Linked DNA regions of Homo sapiens: regions 2 and 3 are each linked to region 1. The links are contacts of gene promoters, found by promoter capture Hi-C in human tissues and cell types (Jung and others, 2019). All regions are on one chromosome and are shown on one strand. The core of a region is centred on a gene start or on the middle of the fragment in contact, and the rest is flanking DNA. Distances in the headings are between cores, read along the strand shown. Region 1 holds the start of TCL1A (TCL1 family AKT coactivator A). Region 2 holds the start of ATG2B (autophagy related 2B). Region 3 overlaps AK7 (adenylate kinase 7).

Region 1 (4,834 bases), core at 354-2,853:
GATGGTCATCACTGTTCCCTGAAGCTCACTTCCTTAGGCCATGCATGCTCCTCTCAGGGACTCTGGCTGGGCCAGGACCACCAGCACACACACGTGTCTAGCCACCCAGACAGGGCCATGAAAGGCACACTTTTTTCTGGCGGGTTGCAGCGGCTCACACTTGTAATTCCAGTGCTTTGGAAGGCAGAGGCAGGAGGATCGCTTGAGGCCAGGAGTTTAAGACCAGCCTGGGTCACAGAGCGAGACCCTGTATCTACAGGAAAAAAAAAAAACAACAAAGAAAGAAAGAGAGAAAAAGAATACTGGCCTTTTCAATGATGTGAGGCAAAATCTGTCCCACAGTTTGCTAGTGGGTTATTTTTTGTGGAGCATGTATCATGATTTTATGAAAAACTGTCTGGTTCGTGGTTTTGGTGTCACGTTGAAGAAGAGATTTCTCAGAGATTTAAAAAAAGAAATCCACTGAATCTTCAAATTATTTCTTCAAATTTTGATTTTAAAAAAGTAAGTATTTAACTTGATTTTTAAAGTAAAAACATATTTAAAAAATTGAAATGCCAATAAAAATGCAGATTTTGTGGTGGTTAAGAGCCTAGAATTCCAACCCCATTACCTACTAGCAATCTTACCTCGGACAAATGTACATTTTTGTGCCTCAGTTTCCCATCTGTAGAGACACAGTCAACACTCAATAATTTTTGATTGCTACTGGACATACGTGTTCTAATATATTTTTTAATTTTTATGCTTTCTTCAGTGTATGTTTGGAGAGAGTTTGAACATTTTTTGACTCTTTTTCATTGAGTAAATCCAAATACTTGTAAAAGACTTATCTATTTCTTTAACAAAAACTTAACATGGATTAAGGACCCATCTTAAGGCATCACACATTAAAAAAGTCAATATTGATTCAATACCGGCGCTTATACTACGACATCACTTGTTAAATTTGTTTTCTAAATAAAGCCCAGAGGTAGTGGAAAATACTTCACACTCTAGGCCAGTGTTTGCTATGCCTGGTTGACCCTAAACTGTTGAGGGTTCTTTTTAAAAATACAGATTTCTGGGACCCACCTGAGATGATTCCGATAATCGGCCATATGGATGAGTCACTTAGAGATACCCATTTTTAAGGATTAGGACCCCGAAGCCCAGAAAATGCCTGCTGTAGTCAACATTATAGTCACACTCCACAGGCACTGGGTCCACCCCTTTGACCGACATTCCTTTGCGGTTTTCCCACCCTTCTTCCCTGCCTGGAGAACTCCTATTCATCCTCCAGAGCCCGGCTCAAAGTGGCTTCATCTGTGGGGATCCTCCCTGCCCCATAGTGAGTGCTCCTTGAGTCCTCGCCCTTCCTAGGGCATCCCAAGCTCCCAGGGGCTGCCCCTGCTGCCTCGCCATCCGCTCCAAAGCTGGCTGTACCTCGATGGTTAAGGGCAGCCAGGCGTGCTGCTTCTCGTCCAAATACACGAACTTCTCCCAGGCCCACAGGCGGTCCGGGTGGTCGGTGACTGCCTCCCCGAGTGTCGGGCACTCGGCCATGGCGTCCTCGGGCCGCCTAAGAAGCAAGAGCCAGAGCCTCTCAAGGCCGCTCGCTGGTCCCTGGGATGTGGGGCCGACCCTTTATATCCGGGCAGCATGCGGCCGCCACCAAGCGGCGGGGCGGGAGGACGGCCTTGGGGCGGGACCCCGGGTCGGGAGAACGACCTTGGGGCGGGGCGTAAGGCAGGATGGGGCGGGGTTTGTGGGGGTCTTGGTGGCAAGTGAGGGTCCCGCGCAGGCGCTACGTCCCGGCCTGACTTGCTCCCTGGAACGGTGGCAGCTCCTGGGAACGCAGACCCGGCCCCAGCTGGCCCGCGCCTTCCTCGAGGCCCCGGCCAGCAGCGACACCGACCGCCGCCCTCTGCTGCTGCTGGAGAGGCACCGGGGTGACCTTGGCCCTTTCTTCTTCTGGAAGACCCCCCCGCTTCCCTCGGCTGCCGGACCGGGACTCTGGGCCTCTGCTGGGAACTCACAGTCGACACCAGGATGCCCAGAGCCAGGACCCACTCCTCATCTTATGGGATCAGAAGAGACCCGCGCGGGCCTGAGTTAGGCCTGGGCTTTCCCGGGTTCCCTGGATCTCCACCAGCCTGTGCCTTTGAGTGTCAGAGTACGTTTTTTGGCAAAGGACAACTCCTGACGCTCCCTCTCCCTCTTCCATACACAAAGCATGCGTTTTCCACAGGTCTGATGTGCTGTGGACATCTAATAGCTATTACAAAATGGAGAATCATGGGTTTTTGCCCTTGGGCTTTGAGTTTACTAGTGAAAGCATAGTTCGAAATGAATACTTAAAAAGAAATCCCTCCTTCCACCCTAAGATCAATGGATTTGAAAAGTGCCTGGTTTATATGATCAAAACCACCCCTCTGTAAATTACAAGCAATAAGGAAAACAATTTCACTTTATTTTGCAGTAACGCATTCCCACTAAGGCAATTAAGAAAGTCATGCACAATGAAAAACATGTGAAACCAGCTCCAGCCTGGTTCAAACATCACCATGGGATGGAGTTTGGTGTCTCATCTTCCAGCTCTTTCCCAGTTCTCTGACCAGGCACTAAGAACATAATTTGTGATCCTTTGAAATATCACCAAAGTGGAAATTAAGAGATCTGATGAGGACATCTGATTCACCTGGCAGCTGGGTATCTGCCTCTTTGCCTATCCAGAGAGCCTAATTCCCAAGAAGGGGCTGAGAGGGCCTAAGGTAGTCGAGACATAATGGGATTTACCAGGAACACAACATAGAAGAGAAAAGCCAAGGGAAGTTGGGGGTGGAGTGAGGGCCCTTGAGCTCAGCAAACCTCTTTTCCACTGTAGCCCTTAGTGGTGTTAATATTTAATATGCAAACTTAAAGGTTTCATGCTGATTTTCCTGTGAATGGCTCTTGACTCCAGACCTAGATAGCCACAGAGCAAGATGACAAGCTCGCTAATAAGCTCTGTTGGGGAGGTCTCAGCCCAGGCCAGAGCTGTGAAGTGAGAAATAAGTCCAGTTTAAATAGTGCTGCTGGGATGGACTTTTGTGGCCAGGGAAGGGGTACCCAGGAGCCAGTGTGGCCACTGACCCAGCCTCATCAATGGCCCTAGGATCCAGAATGCCACAAACAATGGAGCAAGAATCAGATCTGTGTGTCTGGGTAAGCAGAATGTTCTGAGAATATAATTCCTTTTTCCTTCTTTTGTAAGAACAATTTATTTCTTCAGTTTTGCATGAGGGCTTCTTAATATTGAGCAAGAATATACATCATTATTGCGTGAGATTTAGAAAATTATTTGAGAGAGGGTTCCAATAAATGAAAATGAATTAAGGATGTCTGTGGAGTTCATTGGGCAACTTATAGAGCCCTTGAGCTTTTTTAAGTGAACATTCCACAAGAGGGGAAACAGTAGCTATTGCATAGTCTCAGAGCTGTCTCTGAGCCTCCGTGGCATGTTATCTGCCCCATCTAAGGGTTATAAAGGCCATAAGCCTAGCTTTAGAATTTTATGTTCCTTTCCAAGTCTTTGTTAGTCTGATTTCCCTGAGGATAAGCAAATGGATGTTTCACACAGAAAGCTACAGGAAGCAATCATTTTGACAGAATCCTTAATGGATGCGTTCATGTCCTGATTTAGATCTAGTTTTGCCTTTACCACGATCACCTGTGAACTTGACAAATCCTTTGCAACTTGGCCTCAGTGCCATAGTTTTGTAATGAATGGGGCAAAATACCTGCTCTCTAAGCTTGTTTCTAACTCAGTAGGCCCCAATCCTCCTATAACATTGCCTAGTGGGAGGAGGGAATAGTTAAGAAAAGAGATGGACAAAATATATGATGTTAGTTCAGGAATGCCTACAGTTTTTGGTACAGTGGCTGTAGATCAAGGACCCCAGTGGAATTCATGGGAGCCATTCTTCTTGTTTGGGTTCCAAAGAAGGGGTTGAGGAGTAGTCAAGGCCATCAGGATGACCTTGACTCAAAGTGTTGTCCCTGGACCAGCTACAGTAGCATCACCTGGAGCTCGTAAGAATGACAGAATCTGGAGCCTCCCCCAAGACTACTGAGTCAGAATCTGTATTGGAACAAGACCCCCAGGTGATTCACGGGCATGGTAAATGTTGGGCTATATGGAGGGAGGGTCAAGAGGGAGAGATAGGGGGTGTCTGATTCAACACACCAGTGCCCTCCAGATTTCTCCAACTATGACACAGGACTTATATCGGTGTTTGTGTATCATTTACTTCCAGGCTATCTTATTTTCTGCCAAAATCACCTCTAATATATAGAGTGTTTTCCTCTTAAAAGAAAATCCTAGTAACCAAGGTCATCCTCACCAACCCTGGGGTCCTTGATTGTCAATGATTATAGCAAGCTGGAAAGAGCCTATTTAGAGGCTACTTAGGTGTTTAGGCCTTTGGGCCCTATGATGACTGAGCCTAAACCACTAAGAATCACCTGGGAAGCTTTAATGAAACACCTGCGCCTGGATCCCACTCCAAACCAATTACATCAGAATCTCCGAGATTGAGGCTTGAGAAAAGTAGGTGATGCTAACACGTAGGCAGGGTTAAGTACAATTTCTCTAAGATCTGAGTGACTGTTTTTGACGTGTGCACAGATTTATAAATCTAAATAACTACGAAAATGTCAAAGCTATTCTTTCTACCATCAATTCTCATTGTAAACTTCACCCCAACTCCATATTTTACTTCTTTCCCTTTGCCCTACTTTGCTGCTTCCAATCCTTCGTGGTCAGGGATCCATAGCCCTAAGTTTATTGGAATCATAAGGGTCTGAGATCTTG
Region 2 (4,945 bases), core at 1,957-4,456, 650 kb after region 1:
TGGTTTCTCCTATGGCCAAGTGTTTAAGGGTTGGATTTAAAGATAAGCATTTTCCTTTTACACAGAGAAGAATTCTCCACTGACTATTTATGTATTTATGACAATGACTATCAGTAGTACATGCTACCTAGCAGATATTTTCCAAAAAACAAAACATACTTAATCTGTCTTTTCAAAATAAAGATAGCACTTTAATAATGAGTAAGAAAGCAACCACTTTTCAAAGACTACTTGTACTATGAGGAGAACATTTGAAAAACTGTATTTGGAAATGTTTCCATTGTTCCATGATTTTGTTGCTGAAAACAATGTCTATTAAAAACATTGCTTATTTTTTAAGTCATTATCTATATAGTTTACAAAATGTTTAAAAACATGAAAAGACTATTCCAACCAATCTAAGTCTTCTGAACAAAGAGCTTGAAAAACTGAATTTTAAACCTAATTGTGTGTATATATGCAATGTCAATTAGCCATAATAGAAAAACTAATTGAGATCAGGAATGAAAGGAATGTCATTGCTGAGTTCAACAAAATTCTTTGCATAATTGATCATTTAGAATTGAAACAGTAGGAGTACAGCAATTCTTCAATTAGCATCAGTTTTTCCATTAGGATCTGTGAATCTCCGAAGGTACCTTTTTTTCAGTCATGTAAGTCATTAAAATCAAGTATCTGGCTGGGTCCTATGGCTCATGCCTGTAATCTGAGCACTTGGGAGGCAGAAGTGGGAGGACCACTTGAAACCAGGAGTTCAAGACCAGCTTTGGCAACAAAGCAAGAGAATGAATCCTCTACCAAAAAAAAAAAAAAAAAAAAATCAAGTGTGAAAATAAACTGAATTTGGAATCAGAACTCTGAACAGCTGTATCTAAGGGTCACACTAAGATTTATCCTAACCATCAACACAGCACATGAAAATAAATCAGCAACAGCAAATGTTTACTGGATGCTTTGACATTATCATTTTAGTTTACAAAACCCGCCCATCAAGAACAAAACATCATCCTCAGATTAAGTTTAGTAATAAATCATTTTGCCAATGATTCTGAACTCAAACTATAAAATTCAAATATCACTACCTCTGATTTCCCATAAGGACTAAATAAAACCTCACAAATGAAAGTGCCTAGTACAATGCCTGACATAAATACATACTCAATAAACATTAACTGCCTTTCTTTTGATCTTAGGCCATGTGATGTAATACTTGCTAGATGTGTGATGGGGCAAACTGCTTAACTCCATCTGTAAAATGGAAATATTAATGCCCACCTTATAGGGTTAAAGTCATTAAAGGATAATGCATACAAAGCCCTTCCACCCACAAAAGGCATTAATAAATCCTGAACCCTCTTTTTTCAAGATAACCTATTCATAACTGTATCAAAAGTATAGAATCATGGGTTGTTGAATTCAAAAATATCCTTCAGAATCCCTATCTTTTGGAAGAATTACAGGAATACAATACCATAAGACGGACGACACAGAGATGAAGTGTGTGCTCCATTAGTGTTTACTGAACTCAGGTGAATTGCTAAGTCCATTATCACTCGGCTAATTGTGGCGGTCTGGAGAGTCTCTCCAGGGGTAGGACTCTCACCTCCTGGTGAGCGACTGGGTCTTACTGCTCTCAAACCAGGGCTCTTTCCACTATCTTGTGTCCTCTCCCTAGTTTATGTCAGGTACATACTGATAAAATTATATACTGATTTATAGTCTCTAGCACAAATTCGCTTAAGGGTCATAATAAGGTATTTCCATAATTTAAGATTTTCTGTGGCTAAGGAAGTAAGGGTTGGGCAAAGGGTAGAAGTCACTCTATTCCTGTCAAACCCAAAAGTGAATATACTTTAAGTAAAATGCTATGCATTGAACACACAAATGCAGGTACGACTGCATGTGGTGAGTCGAAATTCAGATGAAGCACCTGTATAGCAATGAGTGAATTCACAGCCTCTAGATGACAAGTAGAAGGCAGGTTTTAAAATGTCTGAAAATTGCAACTTCAGCGCTTTTGCAACACCTGCTTTTACGATCTGTCACGTGGAGCAAAGAGGCATAACTCAACAGCACTACTAGGGCCAGACGACCATTCACAGGCTGGATACACAAACCTATCTTGTAAACATATAATCAAGCAAAAGCAGGCAAACCGGCACAAGAGGCCTTCACCTAACTTTCTTCCAGATGGCAAACGCTGCACGATGACAAACAAGGCAAACATGGTGCGCAAGCAGCCAACCCAAAACAAATAACTAGGGATTCTGACATCCAAAGGTCCTCTTCATCCTTAATCCTTCCAGAATGTCATCCCACAAGGCAGGGTTTGTTTGCCACAAAACCCTGCGGCCCCTCACATCCCGAGGGACAGTTCTGGTCACCTCCTCCCACGGACCTATTGAGCCTGCTTCACAGACCCCCGAAGCACTGACTCAATTATTCCCACAGTGTAGATTCCATTACATCTGTTAAAGTTTCCGGAACACGTGATTTAGGAGAGCAAACTTGTTAGAAACAGATTAAACAACACTCTAACACATTTCTCTGAGCCGTGTCACACTCGGGTCCAAACAATTCCCAAGGAGGGACTGACTGTCACCAATCTTGGATGGCACTGGTTCAAAGCGCCCTAAAGAGGGGAGCGAGCCCCGCCCGGCTCGCCGCCGGCAGCTCTTACCCATTTGTCCAAGGGGACCTGGGCGAGGGACCCGGTGCCTTGGTACAGGTCCAGGCTGAGCTGCTCCAGGCTCAGCTTCTCCTGCAGAAAGTGGCCCAGGTACCTCTGCAGGAGGTACCGGCAGGCCCTCTTCTTGATGGACTCCGAAAACGGCCAAGGCATAGTGACTGCTGGCAGCTGGGCTGACTGCGGCTGCGGGTTGCGACGGCTCCGGCCTCGGGGTAGCGACTCCGGCTCCAGGCCGCGGCGGGGCCTAAGCCTGGGGCGGCCCCTCCATCCCTATTTGGTGCCGGGAGTCCCTCAGGGAGACCCCATCGCCGGCGCCGCACCGCTCGCGCTGGGCCTGGCGGAGGCAAGACGCAGAGGGGTCCTCCTGGCCCCAGGCCAGGGGACTTCCGAGGAGGGTCCCAACCGGCTCGGAGAGAGTGCAAGAGAGCGCGAGAGGAGGCGGCAGGGGCTGAGGCAGCCACCGCCACTGCCGCCGCGCGACGAATTTGTTGTCATCCGCGAGGCGCGTTCCCGGCTGTAGGGACGCTCCTGGCGCGTTCACGAGACCCAGACTCCCGGCGCGCCGCCGGGCGCTGGCGGAAGTGACGCCACACTGGGGCCGCGGAAGGCGGGCAGAAGGGCGGGGGCTGGAGCAGTTCCGGCTCCGAGGGGGCGGGGCGGAAGAAGGCGGGGAGGGAGGGGGCGGCACCGCCGGTCGGCTCCAGTCGCCTCCGGAGGAAGGAAGAAGAGGACGCCGGGCGCGCAGGTGAGCGGCAGCCGGGGTGGCTGCGGGCGAGGGGCGGCCCCCGAGAAGGGCTAGGGGCTCGGGGCGCCGGCGGGCCGTCAGGCCTTCCGGATGGGGACGCGACGCCATGCAGCTGGCTGGGCCGAGAGGGGCGGCAGGCTGCAGGGGCCCCGCGCCCGTGTTAAGAGGGGTCTGGGGGCCGGTCTGGCCGGCCTGGCTCTCCCGGCTCCCCTCAGACCTCGGCGCCCCGGAAACGCACACTTGGGGCTCCGCCGTCTCCGCTGGGAGGACTGGAGCCCTTCTCGAGCATCCCCGCCCGCACCCGAGCATTGACCGGTGCCCATTGTCAGCAAGTTCTTCGGCCCCCGCCTCATTCAGGTATTGTTTCTGAGGCAGCTTCTTCGTTGCCGTTTGCCTGGCGGTTTGCAGAGCGCTTCTCGCATACGCTCGCTTAATCCTGGGTGTGTCATAGCAACGATCAGGAAACTTGGGTTTTCGAAGCATCTGTGGGCAAAACTGCATTCCTTGAGAAATGCTAAAGGCTCCTGACCCCGCCGGAACCTGGGTGAAGAACTTGGGCTGTTCTGGCAGTCTGCGCAATCGTATTTCTGCCTTTTGGGAGGTAACTCCTGCAGAGGCGGAGCCGGCTGTTAAGTTAAGTCAACCTCGAAAGGCCTGGGTGCGGGTGTTCTATGGCCCAGAAGCCAGATGTCCTTCGTTAGAATCCCGGCACTGACACCTATTAGCCGCCCAGCCACTTTGAGCGGCCACTGCCCTCCCCGAGCCCACGTTGCCTCCTTTGCCGAGTGTGAGCGGATTAAAATCTTATGTGCATGGATTTGTTGGGAAGATTAAATGATATGAGTAGGGCACGAACCTGAACAGAGTCCTGAAACATACAGCTGTTTAATCACAGTGAATTAAGACGACCAGTTTAAGGAGTGAAATGTTTACTGTCTCGGCAACTTTCATGAATGCCTTGGAAATACAGCCCAAAATATTGGTAGATGGAGAAACATCTGGTTCCCCTTTCCACAACCACCTTTTCGTTTTAGAACCAGGGTACTTTGTATGCAGTTGCTTGGATTGTTGATTTCCCTCATTCTTTGTAGACTCATCTCAAGTATTCTCAGTAACTTAGATTCCCTTGCTCTTCATTCAGAAATATTTGTTAAGGTCCATTAAATGAAAGTCACCACAGTTGATCATGTGAACAGTGTCAAGAATCAGGCCGAACCTTCAAGGAGTTTATGTTCTAAAACGGAAGCATGGTGGTACCTGCTTGTGGAGGCTGAGGCGGAAGGATCGCTTGAGCCCAGGACTTTGAGGCTGCATAATTGCATTGACGCTATCCATAGAGTGCCTGCAATTTCAAATATCAGAAAGGATCGTACGAGCTATGATCATGCCACTGCACTCCAGCCTGAACCACAGAGCAAGACCCTTTCTCTCAATAAAGTGGAAGTTTGTTCATTTATTCAGTAAATATTTATTGATTGCCTTCTGTGTGCCAAGCACTGTTCTAGGTACTG
Region 3 (4,788 bases), core at 1,327-3,826, 760 kb after region 1:
TTCAAGACCAGCCTGGCCAACATGGCGAAACCCCATCTCTACTAGAAATACAAAAATTAGCTGGGTGTCGTAGCGTGTGCCTGTAGTCCTAGCTACTCGGGAGGCTAAGGCAGGAGAATCACTTGAACCCAGAAGACAGAGATTGCAGTGAGCCGAGATCCTGCCACTGCACTCCAGCCTGGGCGACAGAGACTCTGTTTCAAAAGAAAAGAAGAATGCTGTCTGATATCTCTCTCTTTTCTCTTTGTTTTCCCCGGTAACTGGGACTACAGGTGCCTGCCACCATGCCCAGCTAATTTTTTTTTTTTTTTTGAGACTGAGTCTTGCCCTGTTGCCCAGGCTGGAGTGCAGTGGCGCGATCTCAGCTCACTGCAAGCTCTGCCTCCCGGGTTCACGCCATTCTCCTGCCTCAGTCTCCCCAGCAGCTGGGACTACAGGCGCCTACCACCATGACTGGCTAATTTTTTTGTATTTTTAGTAGAGACGGGGTTTCACCATGTTAGCCAGGATGGTCTCGATCTCCCGACCCACCCGCCTTGGCCTCCCAAAGTGCTGGGATTACAAGTGTGAGCCACCTTGCCCAGGCTCTTTTTTTTTTTTTTTAACTACTTCTTAAGGAGCAGGGCTACACCATAGGCAGTGTGCCTAGAGTAGCCCAATATCCCTTTTGTGCCAAAAGAATCTTTTTGAGTTTAATAAAGTAGGATTTTTTTTTTTAGGAAAAATATTAAAAGACATTCTCAAGCATAAACTTGCAAACTAGAGAATGCACCAACGGATAAACATGAGGAATATTAAATTGCTGAAATGAATAGAAATCCCTGTGGGAACGTTGTCTTCCACTGCTCTCTCCTGTAACAAAGCAAAAGGTAGCAAATCTGCTGATGGCTTGACTTCGTGAGTCATGTAGCCTCCTTCCCTGCCCTGGTTTTGGTGCTAACCGTGCCCTCATCTCTTCCAAAAGACATTCAGCTTCTGACTTGAGATTGCACAGGTCAAAAGCTTTTCAGTTCACTCTTAACTCCACAGTGGTTTTATTCTATCACATATTTACACAGGGATTTCACAAAGTACTCTTGAAAGCAAAGCATAAGCAATTTATCGTACACAACAGGATTTACTTAGTACTGAGCAGGCATTTCTTGTGACCTTCCTGTAAACGTTAAAAAGTGTTGTTGTTTTTAGTCAGTTTGCTTGAGGTAGATATTCATAGGGAATCATTTTGGGTCATATGATCGCTAGAAGAAAAGCTATTTTCAGCAACTTAGGACAAGGCTGTAACTGAAAAGGGCCTGCCTGCTCACTGGTATCAAGTCCCCGAGGAAGGCAGCTTGTGGCTGTTTTCTTCTCTTGGTCCAGCACAGTTTGCAGAGAAGCTTCTGGAAGGACTGAGACCACCAGATAGCAGTCATCCTTGGGGATGGATATTTATTGTTTGCCTGTGGGCTAAGTTGATTGGCCAGACACAGTGCCTGTAATGCCAGCACTTTGGAAGGTCAAGGTGGGAGGATCTCTTGAGCTCAGGAGTTAGAGACCAGCCTGGGCAACATAGTGAGACCTCATATCTACTAAAAAAAAAAAAAAAAAAAAATCAAAAAAATTAGCTGGGGGTGGTGGCATGCACCTGTAGTCCCAGCTACTTGGAAGGCTGAGGTAGGAGAATCACTTGAGTGTGGGAAGTCAAGGCTGCAGGTGCCCTGATTACACCACTGCACTCCAGCCTGGGCAACAGAGCAAGAACCGGTCTCAAAAAAATTAATTAAAAAAATAAAATAAAAAGTAAAGTTTGTTCATCTACTTTATTGTTGATTATTAAATTCTAGGTAGGTGTGTCCAGTGCATTTTGTTTATCACTTCTAGGCAATATTCACTCATTGCAAACTCTGTGCTAAATCATAACACCCATAACATCCAGGCAGCTGGATACATTTCAGTTCAACTGGCAATTGGTCGTGCACAATTTGTCATGTGCCAGGCACTCATTGAACCTTTCCACAATCCTGCAAGGCAGGAATTACACCCATGTTTACCCAATCCAGAAGCTAAAGCCTAGAGATTTATGCAAGTCCACTCACTAGTAAATGGTAGGGGGATTAAATTAAAACTCAGGTCTTCTCACTCCACTGCCTCCAAAACAATTAATGAAACCTGCCTGTGAGATAAGGAAATGGAAGCACAGAGGTCAAGTGACCAAGGACTCTTAAACGTAGGCCACTGGACTTTCCATTCTTTGTTGGACACAGTGCAAACACGTCTAAGACGTAATCTATTTGGAACGTTAATCTGTTGTTAGCAAACTTTTCAGAAATTGTCTTTATTTTCTATTTCTCTGAAAGAAAGTAGGGCATTGTTTCATTCGTACTTGTAGGATTTTAATTGAGGGAGGGAACTGAATGGTGACATAGAGAGGTCAATGCCATTGAAATAATTTACACTTAGGATTCCCTAGAGATGGGGGCACATGGGGAATGCCAGGTTTGGTCAGGCGGCAGAAGCAAGAACAAGGGGAAAGGTCTAGATCAATGCCGTTGTTGGGGTTTCTTTGGGAAAGCCAAGACAGGCCACAGTGAACCGTTCGGGACTGGCTAGTTTGAGTTTACGGGTGGTCTCTAGTTGCCTGGGGCCTGGTCCTGGGATGATTTAGGGCAAGGGAAATACTGGCTTGCTGTGTGAGATTAGATAAATGGATTGAGTGGCTTGCATAGGAGGGGCATTCCCAAGCAAGTTGTTACTATCTTTAGGTATTGGCTAGGCCTGGGAAGGACAGCAGTCTCTCCCCAGATCTGTAAGGCCCCCCTGAAGATGTCAAAACAGACCAGGTGTGGTGGCTCACGCCTGCAATTCCAGCACTTGGGGAGGCTAAGGCAGGAGGATTGCTTGAGTCCAGGAGTTGGAGACCAGCATGGGCAATATAGCAAGACCCCCATCTCCACACACACAAAAACATTCTTAATTAGCTGGGTGTGGTGGCATGTGCCTGTGGTCCCAGCTACTCAGGAGGCTGAAGTGGGAGGATCTCTTGAGCCCAGGAGGTCAAGGCGGTGGTGAGCCTTGATCATGCCACGGCACTTCAGCCTGGGTGACAGTGAGACCCTGTCTCTTAAAAAAAAAAAGAAAAAAAAAAAGAAATCAAAGCATAAGATACAGAAAATAAAAGAAACACATTCCAATCTATGGTAATACAGTTCTAGATGGTATTCTCTCCCATTGAGCAACCATTGCATTTTACCACTGCTGTTAGCCTATGTCCAGTTTGATTCTTTGAAGACCTCTTGGTTGAAGGAGATAAGTTTAAAGTTGTACCTACCTGATTAATATTTGGAAATTTGTTAAAACATAGCTTTTTCAGCCCAGCGCAGTGGCTCACACCTGTAATCCCAGCAATTTGGGAGGCCGAGGTGGGCAGATCACCTGAGGTCAGGAGTTCAAGACCAGTCTGGCCAACATGGTGAAACCCCATCTCTACTAAAAATATAAAATTAGCCAGGCACGGTGGTGCACGCCTATAATCCCAGCTACTTGGGAGGCTGAGGCAGGAGAATCACCTGAACCCGGGAGGCAGAGGTTGCAGTGAGCCAAGATCGCGCCACCGCACTCCAGCCTGGGGGACAAGAGCGAGACTTTGTCTCAAAAAAAAAAAAAAAAAAACCATAGATTTTTCATGTGATTCCAGATAGCCAAATACAGTGACCTCCTTGTTATCTACGGTCTTACCAAGCAGAAATCTATTACTCGCTATCCACAGTTAGCCAGTGCAAGGACAATAGATGTTCTGAATAACTGTCTTGAGATACTGCAGAATCTTGAAGTTCTCTGAGTCATAAAGAGAATGAACATTTTTTTAAAAATCATCTAGTGAGAAGTATATTTTATCATATTAAAAATCTTTGAAAATTGGAAAGCCAAGGATGTTACTCATTATTTGATTAACTGGAATCTTCCACCTCCTGATCAGCCTGGAAGAAAGATAGAATATATTTTTGAAATTCATAGATTATTAACATAGTTCATACATTTTCTAACAAATGAGTATCATGTTAGGGAAAAATCTAAAAAGAAAATAAGTTTTCATATAGATGTCCGACATCATAGAGCTTAAATGGATTCAATTTTCAGCGAATCTGTTGACATCCTTTTGATTTCAGTACCGTACCAGCATTTGAGGCTTCATATGTCTACCTTCCTTTTCAAAAGGCAGCCACTCATGAAAATCATGACAATCAAATGGTAAAAGATGAGCAAAAAATAGGAACAACTTACTTGCGAAAACACCTCTTGTATGCAGAATGGAGGTAGTATCAAACTATTATGAATTTATAGGATCTTATTCCACACGCTGTCTCAGCCTTTGTTTTCACAGTTAACATCTGCAGCAGATGATGTTCACACATGTCCACATGCCTCGGGGACACACCTCCTGTGGGCTTTCCCCATTACACTTACCTTTTTCACCCACTCAAGGAAGCTTATTAGAATGCAAGTAAACGAGAATGGCATTATGATGTTATAAGCCAATACAATTTTAGAACAAAAATCAAATCATTCCCAAGTTCTGTTGAGCTCTAATAGATAGCAAGCTATTTGTGATGCACCCAGACACTGATCTGGGCACCAGTATACCCTGCTCCTGTAGTTGAGAACATCTAAGAATCACAACTCACCTTGGAAAGTTTATTTCACTGATCCACACTTAAATCTCTCATTCACTCAACAATTATCTATTGAATTTGTACTAGAAGCTGGAGGAACAGCTGCTTTCACAGTTTAAAAGAAAATCACAGATGGGTA

The links. Contacts are between HindIII fragments. The study calls those that stand out against the background at their distance.
Region 2: the fragment with the promoter of ATG2B here is called in contact with the fragment with the promoter of TCL1A in region 1 in 1 of the 25 tissues and cell types used here (mesendoderm cells).
Region 3: a contact is called between a fragment that was not itself captured here and the fragment with the promoter of TCL1A in region 1, in 1 of the 25 tissues and cell types used here (lymphoblastoid cells).

What each region holds. Positions count from the first base shown.
Region 1 is chr14:95,712,522-95,717,355 of GRCh38, forward strand. TCL1A (TCL1 family AKT coactivator A) reads right to left here and starts at 1,604. Exons shown (of 4, transcript NM_021966.3): 1 at 1,426-1,604. The coding sequence starts at 1,545. It overlaps LOC107984703 (a long non-coding RNA gene), which reads left to right and starts at 2,962. Exons shown (of 3, transcript NR_148060.1): 1 at 2,962-3,186. RefSeq lists enhancers at 5-224, 1,339-1,388 and a silencer at 1,619-1,858. The HindIII fragment of the contact is 10,029 bases long and covers 1-4,133 here.
Region 2 is chr14:96,360,135-96,365,079 of GRCh38, forward strand. It overlaps ATG2B (autophagy related 2B), which reads right to left and starts at 3,207. Exons shown (of 42, transcript NM_018036.7): 1 at 2,681-3,207. The coding sequence starts at 2,842. It overlaps GSKIP (GSK3B interacting protein), which reads left to right and starts at 3,392. Exons shown (of 4, transcript NM_016472.5): 1 at 3,392-3,434. RefSeq lists enhancers at 1,767-1,836, 3,078-3,372, 3,293-4,113 and a silencer at 3,315-3,664. The HindIII fragment of the contact is 16,004 bases long and covers 1-4,945 here.
Region 3 is chr14:96,472,877-96,477,664 of GRCh38, forward strand. The region is part of intron 14 of AK7 (adenylate kinase 7); the gene reads left to right. Among named protein-coding and RNA genes, the nearest start is that of PAPOLA-DT, 27 kb to the right of the region's middle. RefSeq lists a silencer at 1,162-1,362. The HindIII fragment of the contact is 5,148 bases long and covers 3-4,788 here.